Regions from separate parts of the Homo sapiens genome. Here region 1 is linked to region 2. The links are contacts of gene promoters, found by promoter capture Hi-C in blood cells and fetal thymus (Javierre and others, 2016). All regions are on one chromosome and are shown on one strand. The core of a region is centred on a gene start or on the middle of the fragment in contact, and the rest is flanking DNA. Distances in the headings are between cores, read along the strand shown. Region 1 overlaps KCMF1 (potassium channel modulatory factor 1). Region 2 holds the start of SUCLG1 (succinate-CoA ligase GDP/ADP-forming subunit alpha).

Evidence for each region. The method cuts DNA at HindIII sites, captures the fragments that hold promoters and counts their contacts. A CHiCAGO score of 5 or more calls a contact.
Region 1: a fragment that was not itself captured here is called in contact with the fragment with the promoter of SUCLG1 in region 2 in 4 of 17 cell types (naive CD8 T cells, total CD4 T cells, total B cells and 1 more); the score reaches 8.4 in naive CD8 T cells.

The regions. Positions count from the first base shown.
Region 1 is chr2:84,983,765-84,986,464 of GRCh38, forward strand. The region is part of intron 1 of KCMF1 (potassium channel modulatory factor 1); the gene reads left to right. Among named protein-coding and RNA genes, the nearest start is that of KCMF1, 14 kb to the left of the region's middle. The HindIII fragment of the contact is 469 bases long and covers 1,198-1,666 here.
Region 2 is chr2:84,458,002-84,460,701 of GRCh38, forward strand. SUCLG1 (succinate-CoA ligase GDP/ADP-forming subunit alpha) reads right to left here and starts at 1,279. Exons shown (of 9, transcript NM_003849.4): 1 at 1,172-1,279. The coding sequence starts at 1,268. It also overlaps a transcript of DNAH6 not described here. RefSeq lists an enhancer at 1,316-1,455 and a silencer at 1,636-1,825. The HindIII fragment of the contact is 6,917 bases long and covers 612-2,700 here.

The sequences.
Region 1 (2,700 bases), core at 182-2,681, 530 kb after region 2:
CCTCCCAAAGTGTTGGGATTACAGGCGTGAGCCACTGCGTCCGGCTGACTTTTGTATTTTTTATAGAGATGGAGTCACCCTATGTTGCCCAGGCAGGTCCTGAGCTCCTGACCTCAAGCAATCCTACCTTGGTCTCCTACAGTGCTGGGATTACAGGAGTGAGTCCCTATTCCCAGCCAAAGTCTTAAATCTTAAATTTTACATTCATCATATTTTAATTCAAATGCTAAATTTTCATTTAAAAAATGCCTCAGTTGAAAAACATATTCACATTTATGCGTTGAGGGTCTGCTAGGCTTTTGCTGACCACCCTGTCTAAAGTAGCTCATACTCTGGCTGGCCATGGTGGCTCATGCTTGTAATCCCAGCACTTTGGGAGGCTGAGGAAGGAGGATTGTTTGAGACAAAGCTGGGCAACATGGTAAGACCCCATCTTCACAAAATAAGTAAATAAATAATAGAAGTTTCTTTGAAAAAATAAGTAAATAAAGTAGCCCACACTCTATATATATTTTTTGTAGGGATGGGGTCTTGCTGTGTTGCCAAGGCTGGTCTCAAACTCCTGAGCTCAAGCAATTTTCCCGCCTCAGCCTCCCAAAGTGCTACGATTACAGATGTGAGCCATCACACTTGGCTGTGGATTTCTGCTTCAGTTTCTGTCCTAAGAACTTAGATTTTTCATTTCTTTTTCACCTTAAAATTATTTTTTAACATATACTGGTTTCATGACCTTTTATTTATTTTTTTCTTTTATATTTAAAGAAGCTTAGCAGAGGCTGGGTACGGTGGCTCACACCTGTAATCCCAGCACTTTGGGAGGCTGAGGTGGGTGGCTCATCTGAGGTGAGGAGTTCGAGACCAGCCTGACCAACATGAAGAAACCCCGTCACTACTAAAAATACAAAATAACCTGGGTGTGGTGGCGCATGCCCATAATCCTAGCTACTCGGGAGGCTGAGGCAGGAGAATTGCTTGAACCCGGGAGGCAGAGGTTGCGGTGAGCCAAGATTGCGCCATTGCACTCCAGTCCAGCCTGGGCAGCAAGTAAAACTCTGTCTCAAAAAGAAAGAAAGAAAGAAAGAAACTTCTATTATTTATTTATTTTGTGAAGTTGGGGCCTCACTATGTTGCCCAGGATGGCCTCGAACTCTTGGGCTCAATCCCCTTGCCTCAGCCTCCCAAAGTGTTGGGATTACAAGCTTGAGCCACCATGGCCGGCCAGAGTATGGGCTACTTTAGATAGGGTGGTCAGGAAAAGCCTATCTGAAGATGGACATTTAAGGAAAAGCCATAGTTAAATGAGAGAGATTTAAAGGAAAAAAAAATACGACTGAGGATACAGCAAGTGTAGAGGTCCTGAAATTGGAATGTTCTTGGAACAGCACAGAGGCCATGTGGCTGGAGGGCAATGATTGGGGTGGAAAGGGGTAGGAAGTGAAGTTGGCGTAGTTCGAGCCAGATCTTGGACACCCTCGCATTGTAGGCTGTGTTGAGGACTGTTGAACTGTGAATGCTTTGAGAAACACATTTCGGAAGCCCTGCTTCTATAGAAAGGTCTTTTTGACTAACTAAATGGCAGGGGGTGGAAAGTACATACTCAGTTTGTGTCCCAAACATCTCTAAGAACATTTCTTTACAAACTTTCCCTACATTTACCGTTCTTTTAAGCTTTGTCTTTCTTGACCCCTGTTACTCTATTACTCTATTTAACTGATGTTTCCTGAAGGGTGTGGGGTTTGGTGGAAGGTGAATCTTCCTAGTTTGAATGTAAAACCCTTGGGCCTGGCCTGGCGCGGTGGCTCACGCCTCTAATCTTAGCACTTTGGGAAGCCCAGGCAGGCGGCTCACGAGGTCAGGAGTTTGAGACCAGCCTGGCCAACATGGTGAAACCCCGTCTCTACTAAAAATACAAAAATTAGCTGGGTGTGGCAGTAAGTGCCTGTAATCCCAGCTACTGGGGAGACTGAGGCAGGAGAATAGCTTGAAACCAGAAGGCGGAGGTTGCAGTGAGCCGAGATTGTGTCACTGCACTCCAGCCTGGGTGACAGAGCCAGACTCCATCTCAAAAAAAAAAAACCCTTGGGCCTAGAAACTAGGTCATCTACATACATTAGCAGCTCTCAAACTTTTAAAAAAATATAACACAGAAATATATTTTATATTCTGATGCAGTAGTCACATACATATGTAATGAAGCAAGAGTAATGCAAAATAGTACTTATCACTACTTTGAAACATATACTTTGTTTTCTATTCTGCTTCATTAAAAACCAAAATACTAGTTGTGACCTTCTAGATTGATTTCACATTCTATTCATGGATTGTCACCTCCTATTGAAAAACACTGGCCTTGGATGTCTAACCTAAAACTTTGGGTCCTTATGTGCAAGGTATTATGATAAGTACTATGAGGCATTTAGAAAACTCTTAGAATTTTTCCTCCTAAAGTATGTGGTATGACTGAAGCAATAAGGTCTAAGTATTTAAAATAAAATAACCCTTGTATGACTGGGGCAATTAAAAGTGTCAGCTCATTTACTACAAGTTCTGTAGTGTTGGCAAGTGGAATGAGGTGTTATTTGGGTGTCAGAGAAGAGATTTCCTTAGGGTGGCATTTAAACTCAAGACTTGAAGAAGTATCGTATTTTTATAGGATGAGTTGGGGGAAGGGGATCCGCCAAGTGAGAGAATGTAGGAGGT
Region 2 (2,700 bases), core at 29-2,528:
AAGGAATTAAGTCTCATAAAATATTCAGTACAAGCAGAATTAAGAGCAAAGCGGAAAAAGAAAACTAACTTTGAGTGTTTGTTACATACGAGATGCTTTATATAAATTGCTCCACTTATTCTGCAGTGAACCCAGATCATCCTGTACATCATCATTGCTAAAATGCACATTTTTTTTCACTTTTTAAAAAACCAGGATACATGTGACAACCACTGGTGTGTCACAGTTTTAATAAGCAATCGTTCTTCATTGTTAGTGGTAAACAAAATAATGGTCCACCTTACAAGTGATGGTGCTTCAGGCCCCTTAAAATGTGTTAATATTTTCATGTGATTGGAAACACTGAAAAACAGATTAAGTGTCCAGGGTTATTACACAGACTGAAAAGGGACTAGCCAGACTTCAAACCCTGATGTGGCTGATTCCAAAGTTTCTTTCTACTATAACCTACCTGACAAGCACAGAGACTTTGAATATGGCAAGAATTTTCCATAGTCAGCGTGTCTCAAAGACTAGCAACCTTGGGTACTAAGTTTTCGGGAACGGATGTGTCCACAAATCGCCTGGTGGAGACACTGCAAATAAGCTGGTTTAGGTCCCAGCCAACCATAAGCTTCTAGTAGTCTATGCGGCTATGCCGACCCCACTCCGTGTGCAGAAACCATCTTTCCCTGACATACAATCCTGCAGAGGGGGAATTCGAAGTGCAGGACCTTTCCGTACTAGGGACAGCCTCATCCCCCAACTTCCTACTGAGACACTCTTCCTCTACCTCTCAACCCAGACCCTTACCTTCCCCACCAAGTTCACCTTGGACCTCTTCATCCCCAACTCCAAATAAGGCCAGTCTAGACGCCACCCCCATCCTGTCATTTGTCACCGCGGGGCCGAGAGCAAGCTCCCAAATTTGCAGGGCTCCCGGACCCGAATCCTGGCTCAGCCACCCAATATCTCCATCTGCCAGCGGCCTAAGTCATGCCCCCCGCCCCACGTATCCAGCAAAGCTCCTTCCACCGTAGGGGTCCCCGACTCGAAGCCGGAATCCCAAGCGGCTCCCAGGCCCCCGCCGAGGTCCAGCCCTGAGGGCCCAGCCGCGGCCTGGGCCAGGAGGTTGGGTCCGGCGGGGCCAATAACCCGCGGGCGCCAGGAAGACAGTACTGGCTGGACTCACGGAGGAAGCTGCGCGACAGGAGACGGGCGGCGGCGAGGCCGCTGCTGCCGGAGACCATGGTAGCGATGTCAGCGGCAGCGGCAAGGGTTGCGGTCATACGCCAATGACACTCCCAGGCCCCCGGGGACCTCCCAGGGGCAGAGGCCGGAGGAGGCAGAGGGTGGCCACAGCAGTCGCCTGAACAAATTTCCCTTTACAGAGGATTCTTCACGAAACAGCGGGAATGGCAGGTGAAGACAAAGAGGCATCCTATCGGAGAGGCAGATAATAACTCGGCTCCTTCCTAGAAATGTGGGTTTGATTAACATTAATTATAACAGCAGCTGAGGGAAAACCCCACGCGAGACTGGCCAGCGCGTGGCATTGTGGGCAATGTAGTCTGACGGCCGCGACTGGTTCGTAGCTTTTGAGTGAGGCGGCGGGAAGGGAGCGAGGGAAGAGCGGCAGTGAGACCGGGGAGACAAGGGACTTGAAGACTAGGAGGGAAGAAACAGCGAGGTGAGGTGCGAAGAGCAGTGCCAGAACTTTGTATCCCAGGCCCATCTCCTTCCCCCTTCGTTTTCCTCGTTTGCTATTAGAGAGAATAATATTTCTCACCGCGTACCTGTGCCTGGACCCGGAAGGGTTGCCGCTGGGGACGGGAATTCGAACTGGCACTGGTGGCCTGTGAAGGGAAAGATGTGATGAGAAAGACCAAAACCTATCTTACTGACAGTTAACTTCTTGGAATGTGAATTTTTTTAGTTAAATAATCATGCAGTCTTTGACTAGCACTAAGTGCATGAGTGTTTATTCCCTGAGGATCCTAAGGGCTGAAATTCGAGGTCAAATGTGACTTTGCTCCCTGATTGGACAAACAGTTCCCTCTTCTGTAACAGCTTTAGAAGGAACCTCAGAGAGTCCCAGAGTCAAAAGGTAAACAAGAGATGAAGTAATCTGCGTCTCTGCCGAAAATCGTGCTCCTGAGATTCCTCATCAGAATTGTCAATAAAATTGCAATCCTAATTTACTTAGGTAGTCATTATAATTGGCACTGAGCTGTGGGATGGATGAGTGGGATTACCCCAGGAGATTGCCCAATACTTCCTTTATGATCCAAATATTGTCATTAACAGGTTGGACTTCACTGCAAATAAACTCCTCCCTCATGGATCATGTTCTTGTGATAACTAAATTCCTCAGAGTTAAATAGTATCAGTGGTTTCCAGATATATCCATTATAACAAAATGGACATTTTTATGGCAAATAAATAGAAAATCCCTTGCTATTTTAAATAGCAAAATTATTCCTGAGCTGTCGCTTGATAAGTTATATGTTTAGTTTCATTTAATTGATAAAATGCATGATGACAAAAAATATAATTTCAGTACACTTTTAATGAAAATTTGTATTTCCATGAAGACGGGGATTTTTGTTTGTTTTGTATCCTGGAGTATCCCCAGCACCTAGAACAATGCCTTACACAAATAACTCATCGTTGAATTGAATTGATATATATAGGAGAAATAGTAGTATATAGATTATTTTT